2 separate regions of the Homo sapiens genome follow, and region 2 is linked to region 1. Evidence: promoter capture Hi-C in 16 types of primary human blood cells and fetal thymus (Javierre and others, 2016). All regions are on one chromosome and are shown on one strand. The core of a region is centred on a gene start or on the middle of the fragment in contact, and the rest is flanking DNA. Distances in the headings are between cores, read along the strand shown. Region 1 holds the start of STAR (steroidogenic acute regulatory protein). Region 2 overlaps RAB11FIP1 (RAB11 family interacting protein 1).

Region 1 (5,064 bases), core at 415-2,914:
CACCACTGCCAGCTGCAGATCTAAGCATGGCTTCTCGCTCTAAAGGTAGCTAATTCAATCCAGTGTAATTGGAAAGATCGTGCCTAGATTGACTTGTGTACCCTTCAGTGGCAGCAGGGGATTGATTCAAATGACCTTGGATGCGAATCAGCTCTACAAAAGTGGCCTCTTGTAGCTGGTTTCTGCCCCTTCCTGGCTATTCAATGATAATCAGTCTTCCGTCTTATCTCTTTACCTTGCCCTCCTGTCTTACTCCCCTATGTCTCTTCTCCGTCTTTTTTTGCCTGTGGGAGTCAAGTCTAATATTTACTCTGCCACTGTGGGCAAGACTTTCCTGTGTACCCCTGCTACAAGACTTGTCCAGCTCTGAAGGAAGGCAAAGTCAGGAATAGTTCAAGAAAGATGGCCAGGCATGGTGGTGCACGCCTGTGGTCCCAGCCACTCAGGAGGCTGAGGCAGGAGAATTGCTTGAACCCAGGACGCAGAGGCTGCAGTGAGCCAAGATAGCGCCAGTGCACTCCAGCCTAGGCAACAGAGCGAGACTGCCTCAAAAATAAAATAGGCTGAGCGCCATGGCTCATGCCTATAATCCCAGCAGTTTGGGAGGCAGATCACCTGAGGTCAGGAGTTCAAGACCAGTCTGGTCGACGTGGCGAAACCCTGTCTCTACTAAAAATACAAAAACTAGCCAGGCGTGGTGGCATGCACCTGTAATCCCAGCTACCCAGGAGGCGGAGGTTGCAGTGAGCCGAGATCGTGCCACTGCGCTCCAGGCTGGGCAACAGAGTGAGACTCCATCTCAAAATAAAGTAAGCCAGGTGTGGCGGCTCACACCTGTAATCCCAGCACTTTGGGAGGCCAAGGTGGGAGAATCCCTTGAGCCCAGGGGGTCAAGACCAGCGTGACCAATATAGCAAGACATTGTCTCTAAAAAAAATAAAAATAAAAATAAATAAATAAAACTAGCTGGTTGTGGTGGTGCACGCCTGTAGTCCCAGGTACTCAAGAGGCTGAGGTGGGAGGATGGCTTGAGCCCATGAGTTTGAGGCTGCAGTGAGCTATGATTGTTCTACTGTACTCCAGCCTCTGTGACAGAGACCTTTATTCAAACAAAAAAAAAAGAAAAGGCGGAAGAAAAAAAGAACGAATGAAGGAAAAGGGGAAGGAAGAAAGGAAGAAAGAAAGGAAAGGAAGGAGGGAAGGAAGAAAGAAAAAGAATAAAAATGAAAGAAAAGGAGAAAAAAAGATTGGAGTCCTGGAGGGGAGACCAGAAATTATAGAATCTGGAAGGGATATATCTTAGTAACCAGCCCACTTCTTCCGAGGGGAAAACTGAGATTCAAGAAGGGAAGAAACTTGCCCAGGTTCACCCAGTAAGAGGCACAACTAGGATCAGAATTGGGTGGCCTGAGCCTCATCCGCTGAGAGCTGGCCAACCCCTCATCGCCTCCTTCCCGCAGCGCTCACCCTTCATGTTGCGCATGTGTCTGTAGGAGCTCCCAGCGCACAGCTTGAATGTCGCTAGCAGCATTGTTTCCTGGCAAATGTGGCAGTGGTGGGGTCGCTGCCGCTGCTGCTGCCGCCGCTGCTGCTGCCTCTTCTCTCAAGGGTGGTTCTTCGTCCTTCCTGAGCCCCTCAAGCTTCGCCTCTGAGTCCCGCAGCTGCAGCCTGGACCTGGTGTTCTGCGTCTTAAATGTCCCCCGCTGAAGGCTGTGCATCATCATCAGGAGATAAAAACGCCATCACTCACTGTGCAAAGGAAGGGGTCAAGGATAGAGCGATTGCCTCACACTGCTGCTTTGGCCGTTTGTGGGGAGCTTGGGGCGGGGGAGGGTGCAGGGGAGAGTAGGGAGGACAGGGCCAGGCGAGGGATGGAGGGGAGAGAAGCAGGGGCAGCTTAGATGAAGGCACACAGTGGTTTTCAAGACTTTAAAGTGCAGATTTCTAGCCCTTGTCTTCAGAAACTCCAGGCTCAGCTGATCTGGAATTGAGGCTCAGAAACCTGTGTTAAAAAAAAAAAAAAAAAAAAAAAAAAAAAAAAAAAAGAAGGAAAAGAAAAGAAAAAAGAAAAAAAGAAAAGAAAAAAACTTCCCTTGGCCAGGCGCGGTGGCTTACGCCTGTAACCCCAGCACTTTGGGAGGCCGAGGTGGGCAGATCACTTGAGGTCAGGCGTTCGAGACCAGCATGGCCAACATGGTGAAACCTCATCTCTACTAAAAATACAAAAAATTAGCCGGGTGATGTGGCAGGCACCTGTAGTCCCAGCTACTCGGGAGGCTGAGGCATGAGAATCACTTGAACCCAGGAGGCAGAGGTTGCAGTAAGCCAAGATCGTGCCACTGCACTCCATCCTGGGCGACAGAGTGAGACTCCGTCATAAATAAATAAATTAAATAAATAAATAAATAAATACCCAGTGGTTGCAATGCAGGTGTTGTGTGGACTACACACTACACTTTGAGAACCACCGTCTCGCGAGAGTGAGCCAGGGTGTTTACCAGGCAGTAGAGACCATATGGCTGCTCTTCTTCTGGGTGAGGACCCTGAAGTCCACAGAGTGGAACTGACTTGTTCAAGGTCAAACAGCTGGCCAGTGGCAGGGCCAGGACAACAACCCAAGCCTCTGGCCTTCAAGCCATCTGTACACAGTTCCTCCTGCGGTCCCCAGGACGCTTGGTATATTCAACTGTCAATTTATTTACTCATCTATTTATAGAAACCACCTTTCCCAAAGTCCTGTTCCGAGTGAGGGTTCTTAGGGGTCTGTGCTGGAGCAAGGATGACCTCTCGTGGCTGAGTCGCGGGGGGGCGGGGGGGGGCGGGGCAGCCCTATCAGTATACGGCAGAGAGAAGAGGAGGGCCTGGGCCACGCCCACACCCTTCCTCACACTTTCCCGCCAGTAGCTTTGTCTGAGTGAGCTGGGCTGGGGGTCTTGGTATGTGCAGAAAGCTTGAAAAGACAGGGCATGGGCTGGGCACAGTGGCTCATGCCTGTAATCCCAGCACTTTGGGAGGCTGAGGCGGGCAAATCACAAGGTCAGGAGTTTGAGACCAGCCTGACCAACATGGTGAAACCTCGTCTCTACTGACAATACAAAAATTAGCCGGGAGTGGTAGCGTATGCCTATAATCCCAGCTACTCAGGAGACTGAGGCAGGATAATCACTTGAACCCGGGAGGCAGAGGTTGCAGTGAGCCAAGATAAAGCCACTGTACTCCAGCCTGGGTGACAGAGCAAGACTCCGTCTCAAAACAAAAACAAAAACAAAAAAACAAAAATTAGCCAGGCATAGTGGCAGGCACCTGTAATCCCAGCTACTCAGGAGGCTGAGGCAGAATTGCTTGAACTTGGGAGGTAGAGGTTGCAGTGATCTGAGATCACACCATTGCATTCCAGCCTGGATGACAGAGCGCGAGACTCTGTTGCAAAAAAAAAAAAAGGAAAAAAAGAAAAGACAGGGCGTTGGGGTGTTCACCCTAGTCTTTGCACTTTAGGGGCCCTGTCAGGCTGAGCAAGGCCCCACGAGGCCTCTGCATTTCCCACTCACCCTTACCCAGGCGCAGCACGTGCTGGGCTCTGACTCTGACGGAATCTCTTCCCTTTACAGTGACCTTGAGGCTGCTTTTAAGCCAGATTCACTGGGCAAGAATATTGGGAGTGGAAAAACTCACACTGGAACTGCCCCTGGCCCAGGCCCTGCTCCCTGTGGGAGGGAGTTCTGTGTCCTGCCACCACCTCACAGAGGCAGAGGGGAGCCCTAAAAATGGGGAGCAGTGCCGGGGCCCCATGCACTCTCGCTGTCTCCCCAACACCAGACAGGGTGAAAGGGACAGGATCTGCTCAGAGCCAGGCCTGGCACTTGGAGCCCATATAGAACAGGGGAGTCACCCCCCTGGCCCCCGATTTCCACCCCGGTGATGCAGTCGGGGAATCCTGTGAGCAGAGGCTGCCTAGAGGTACCCGGCCCCTTCCTCAAAACCTCCTCCAGGAAACCTTCCTAGACCATCCTGGTCTTCTGGAATGCTGGCTCCTCCCACCACACCCTTACTGTCAGTATCACTTGAGGGGCTTAGTTCTGGTCCTGATTTGTTGAATGGTTTGTATGTGTTTGCTTGTCTCTTCTGTGGAATTATCTCCCCAAGGCAGGTGCTGGGTCCACTTTCCCCCTTAAAAGCTGTCCCCACCCTCAGCACTCACCTCCAGCAGAGACACAGGGGACTCTTGCTCCTTCTCTATTAAAACTTTTTTTTTTTTTAATTTTTAAAAATAGAGACGGGGTCTTGCTATGTTACCCAGGCTGGTCTTGAACTCCTGGGGTCAAGCCATCCTCCTGCCTCGGCCTCCCAAAGTGAGCCACTGTGCCTGGTGTGCTCCTTCTCTATTGAGTGACCAACTGGGAAAGCAGCTAGGGGTGCAGGTATATCTTTAGACTCAGGAAACCTGCCTGAAGGCATTGTTTCCAGCCCTCAGTCCCCAAGGAAGACAGCAGGGCCTCTCCCCCGTCGCCAGCCTGTGCCTAGGCCCTCTACCTTTCAGAGAGGAGGTGCAGTGGATGAGCTGGGCAGGTGGGGTGCCAGCTCCCCCGGCTCCTCCCTCTGATCTGCTGGGGCATGTGCCTCTCCTGCACATGTGTGTCTGCAGGCCTGCCTCAGCGAGGTGGGGGGAGGGGGAAGGCGGTTATTATGGGACAGGCCATGCAGATGATGATCAAGGCCCTGCTGCTGCCTTCCTGTGGAGAATTATGGCCATTCTGAAAGGGGTGGAGGTGGTGTGGGAGACGGAGGATAGAGCCTATGGCTGTGGCTGATGTCAGAGGCTGCCATTGACTCCTGGGAGGGGGTGGTTGGGAGGTGGTGCTGGGTGACCTCTGCAAGGGCCAAGGCTCTCTCCCTCATCCTTTCCAGGCAGAATGACTCATTAACTCTCTCCATCCCTCTGAGCAGTAAAGTGGCGAGAGAGGTCTGGGAATTTCCTCTGGTTCTGGACCATCTGTATCTGGCTCTGCTTTTTGATGAGGGCAGAGCTTCCAAGAAAGGAGGCCAGATGACCATGGCAGGCCATGG
Region 2 (5,064 bases), core at 1,784-4,283, 290 kb before region 1:
TCTCGCCCGTTGCCCAGGCTGGAGTGCAATGATGTGATCTCAGCTCACTGCAACCTCCACCTCCCTGGCTCAAGCGATTCTTGTGCCTCAGCCTCCCGAGCAGCTGAGATTACAGCTGTCTGCCACCACACCCAGCTAATTTCTGTATTTTTTAGTAGAGACGGGGTTTTGCCATGTTGGCCAGGCTGGTCTCGAACTCCTGACCTCAATCAAGTGATTCACCCGCCTCAGCCTCCCAAAGTGCTGGGATTACAGGCGTGAGCCACCGCGTCCAGCCATACATGTACATTTTCAGAGTTCAAGTGAACATACAGTTTTCTTTATAAGTATGTAAATAAATTTCATAGCACTACAAAAATACAAGTCATCTGAGAAGTTTACAGTGGTCCCAGTACTGTAGGAGAGAATTAAATAAAATAAAATAGCTGTAGATAATTAAAAGCTAATTAGATAAATCAAGTTACAGTATCATCCTTCAGATTAAAGTGCTCTGATATAACCAATGCCACAGCAAACGAAATCCTGGAAAGAGATTGCACTGCCAATGATTTTGTCTCTTAACCTCAATGTAACAAGGACACACATAAAAGAGATTCCTGATTTAATAACTGCTATCATCTTCACCCCCAACCACGCTATTAGCCTGTGATATTCTTCCCCTAGGAGAGATGTCAAGATTAGATGAGATTCTATCATAGCCAGGGAAAAAAATGAGAAATACCAGAAACATTCTAATTCCAGTCTTAAGTGAGTAACAACAAAATTACCTGAAAAATCTCAGCTGGTGCTTTTAGCTAAGAAGGAAGCAAGTGCCCTAGTTAAAAAAAAAAAAAGTCTATAAATCTAGTTTTAAAAATACAAATTCAAAAATAAGTATCATCTTCTTGCTCTGCACAGTTTTATAACAAGGGGGTAAAATGCTGGTGAGTCTATTCATGAGGGAAAATGGAAAAAAAGCAACCATTTGAAGGCTGAGGCACCTGTTTTCTACTGACTTTTAACTTTTATTAACTACATTAAGCCCTTCACTACAATTTCCCCAGTATCCCACAAATAATTTGGGTTTCCTTTTGGGCAGGGAGAGAAAGTGTTCAAAGGACAGACATGCAGATGCAGTTCAATCCCTTTGGGGTCCAATCCATGGTCTCCTGTCCCCTGTAGAGTGAAGGGGCTTCTTTTTTTCTTTTTAGTTTTTTTTAAGACAGAGTCTTAAAAAAATTGCCCAGGCTCTTTTTTTAAGAGTCTTAAAAAAACTCTTGCCCAGGCTGGAGTGCAGTGGCACGATCTTGGCTCGCTGCAGCCTCCATCTCCCAAGTTCAAGCAATTCTCCTGCCCCAGCCTCCCGAGTAGCTGGGATTACAGGCACGCACCACCATGCCAAGCTAATTTTTGTATTTTTAGTAGAGATGGGGTTTCGCCATGTTGGTCAGGCTGGTCTCGAACTCCTGACCTCAAGTGATCCACCCTCCTCGGCCTTGCAAAGTGCTGGGATTACAGGCATGAGCCACCACGACTGGCCTGAAGGGGCTTCTTCATCTTGGGGAGTTGGTGGACCCTGTCTCTGCCCCTTACAAGGAGTGTTGCTGAGGAAACCAGAGCACCGAGCAAAGGCACAGGGGGAAAAGGCCAAGCAATCGTATTGACATCATTCCACACCTGGAGAACTGTATTAGCGAGTGCGTGGACCACCCAATCCCCTAGCAAAGCGCTGAATAGGCTGGTCTAGCCAGCAGGAACCTGGCTGTCATAAGAGGAGGGGCTTTCACCAAGTTCCTCAAATTGAATAAAGAGTAATTCTTTTAATTCCTGAATTCTACTTTTCCTATCTCCAGTAGAAGGGCCCTGGATCTAAGCAGAAGGTATTTTAAGGCTAGAGAGTAGTAGAAGTCGATGTTTAGAAAAGGCCGCTTGTTCAAAATCTGAAAGGCATACTCAGAGGCTTTCTCTAAACACCTCTGTTCCCATCAAAAAACAAGACCCAAGTCTGAGAAGCTGGGTAGGTTTACATGGTATCAAAATTTAACATCTGCAGCCAAAAGCCACACCTGAGCTACTCAGAAGCCAAGAAAGTATGTGTATGTAACACAGCACCAATCGCATGGTCCTTTTCTCATTTAAAGCTTTCTCAGGTAAGCTTTAAGAGCTGGAGGATACATACTGAAAAAAAATCTCAGTATGAAAGAAAGAAAACCCCAGTGTTAAAATACATGAATACTTCCTGTGCCATCTGAATCTCTGGCTCAGGATCAGATCTTATGACCACATCTCTGGTGGGCATAAAATATTTACAACCTTGTTAAAGGCACAGTGGCATTTAAAACTAAAGCCTTGGGAATGTACAGTAAAAGATTAATTGTAATCATTAACCTGGCTTCCATTGGTAGAATTCACTCTTGCCGGATAACATGTGAGGGAGATGGTGATTCGGAGCCTGCTGGCTGGTTATCAGGCAAGGCAAGTCCTTGACCCCTGGAGCAGGTGAAAGTGAAGTCACAGAAACGTCTCGGTGTTTTTTTTCTGCTGATTTACATCTTTCCTGCTTTTTTGCCAACCTGAGTCGGGATGCGGAGGATATTGGGGGTTTCTTCCATGACCCTGACAAGCAGGTTGTCAATGTAGTCTTCCAGCTCGCGGACCTGGAACTCCTTCTTGCTTATCGTTTCCTTCTGTTTGAGGACCAGCTGAATCAGCTCATCGTGGGTCAGCTGCGCATATGCAAATGCAGGGTCCGAGGGGCTGTATTTCTTTGGAGGGGGGGAAATAGTTGGGAAAAAGGAGTTATAAAATTAGCACAGAAACCTAAAACCTAAAAGAAGTACAAAGGAGGAAAAAGTGACTAGTGATCTGGGTCTCTTGGGAATCCATTTTCTTTCTTTCTTTCTTTCTTTCTTTTTGAGACTGAGTTTCACTCTGTCACCCAGCCTGGAGTGCAGTGGCGCGATCTCAGCTCACTGCAACCTCCGCCTCCTGGGTTCAAGTGATTCTCCCACCTCAGCCTCCTGAGTAGCTAGGACTATAGGCATGCACCACCATGCCTGACTAATTTTTGTATTTTTTTAGTAGGCACAAGGTTTCACCATGTTGGCCAGGCTGGTCTTGAACTCCTGACCCCAGGTGATCCGCCTGCCTCAGCCTCCCAAAGTGCTGGGATTACAGGCATGAGCCACCGTGCCCAGCCAGGGAATCCGTTTTCAATTTACAGTGAAAACAGGTTGTTGACTGATGAAGTCTTCTGGAAAGGGCCAGATAGCACATATTTGAGCCTTTGCGGGCCACAGACAGCCTTTGTTAACATGTTCTTCCTTGGTTTTTTGGTCTGTTTGTTTTGTTTTATTTTGTTGTATGAACTTTTAAAAATGTAAAAACCATACTTGCCTCACAGGTCGAGGACCTCTGGACTTGACTCTGGGTTTGGATTTTAAGCAGTGCCATCATGGGAGGACTCAGTTCTCCAAATGAGTGCTCACTCCTTTGGGAACACTAGGAGCTCACACAACCAAACACCAGTGCAGAGCTGGTGACGACTCCCAAGCCAGAGGGGGCCCAGGAAGACACAGCTGTGACAGCAAGTGCAGGGAGCAAGGGCTTTCTTTCCAGGGCAGCAGGTCGAGGTCCAGCCCAGACTGTCTGCTCCTGCCAAAGCTGCGCTCAGAAGGACTCAATGAGCAGGTGGATGCAGAGGACACCCAGGGACCCCACTTCACATCACTTCATACTCGAGAAATATGCGGAGTCAGAGCCAGGTGCCACCATGCCCCGTCCTCACCCGTGGCCGTCTAGGCACGCCCTTGGGTACACAGCGGCCTGTCCCAGAGCTGAGTGTTCCACTCCCGAGGAGAGCACACACCCTGCGGAGTCACTGTGCTTTATCAGCATTTATGATCTGGGGCCCCTGCAAGCCCAAGCAGCTTGAACCAGGAGGAGATGTAAGGTAAAGCTTAAATGAAAAGTCACATGCTGTGTAAGTCCCCAGTAAGGAAAAAAAAGTGACTTTTCCTGAAATCTGTAGCCTGAGATTTACATGTTTAAAGAATCAAGATGATTTTGCTGGCAGAGCTCTGAGGCAGGAATAGCTTTACTGCCCTGAGGGTCTAACGGTTTCACTGCCTACCAGGAAGGCCAAGAGACTACCTTCTCCAAGAATCAACACTAGTTCCTCAGTGACATGATAGGAGCCCCAGTTCAGTCAGTGACGCAAACTGCCTGGACACGAGCCAGAAGTCAAAGGAGGGATCCCAGCCCTCCCATCCTGGCTAGGAACAAAAGCAAGATGATGGCGGTACTAACTTAGACACACAACACCAACGTTTCCATAGACAGAGCGGGTTCAACCCCACACAGGCTGCACATTTAGAGGTGAGACACTGGACTGCTTTTCCAAAACCTGCTTCTCCCCTAATCTTTGTTTTTTAAAACTTTGAAGGCATGCATTCACGATGCACCTCCTCTGGACCTCAGTCACTGTAGATGTGACTTCCAAAACAATATTTCATTGAAAAGTCGCAAGTCTGGAAAAGAGCCCTAGCGATTGATTACACAACAATGTGAATGTACTTAATGCCTTTTTTTTTTTTTTTTCCCCATAGAGACGGGATCTCTCTATGTTGCCTGGACTGGTCTCAAACCCAAGCTCAAGTGATCCTCCCACCTTGGCCTCCCAAAATGCTGCGACTACAGGCATGAGCCACCACACCCAGCCTTACATTTTATATCAAGAAAAAAGAGTCACCTTTGTAAATAATGGCAAAGAATACGTCCTCAAGGGATTTTAGATTATATCTCTGTCATATAAGGATCTTATTTATTTATTTTTTAAAAGTCTCAATACATAAGATACTCTGCATGGAGTTTGAAAGAGAGAGGGATGCAGAGGCTGACACCTGTAGGGTGTCATATAATTAATTCCAACACCTAACATTTGGGTCTCTTTATTTTTCCTGGGATTCTTTTTTTTTTTTTTCTTTTTTTGAGACAGATTCTCACTGTGACACCCAGGCTGGAGTGCAGTGACACGATCTCGGCTCACTGCAACCTCTGCCTCCCAGGTTCAAGTGCTTCTCCTGC

What was found. The method cuts DNA at HindIII sites, captures the fragments that hold promoters and counts their contacts. A CHiCAGO score of 5 or more calls a contact.
Region 2: a contact is called between a fragment that was not itself captured here and the fragment with the promoter of STAR in region 1, in 1 of 17 cell types (megakaryocytes). The highest score is 5.0, in megakaryocytes.

Annotation. Positions count from the first base shown.
Region 1 is chr8:38,149,288-38,154,351 of GRCh38, forward strand. It overlaps STAR (steroidogenic acute regulatory protein), which reads right to left and starts at 1,665. Exons shown (of 7, transcript NM_000349.3): 1 at 1,468-1,665. The coding sequence starts at 1,531. RefSeq lists enhancers at 1,504-1,803, 2,152-2,184, 4,228-5,064 and a promoter at 1,638-2,953. The HindIII fragment of the contact is 1,310 bases long and covers 1,639-2,948 here.
Region 2 is chr8:37,860,370-37,865,433 of GRCh38, forward strand. RAB11FIP1 (RAB11 family interacting protein 1) reads right to left here. Exons shown (of 6, transcript NM_001002814.3): 6 at 1-2,744. The coding sequence ends at 2,526. Among named protein-coding and RNA genes, the nearest start is that of BRF2, 13 kb to the left of the region's middle. The HindIII fragment of the contact is 1,803 bases long and covers 2,133-3,935 here.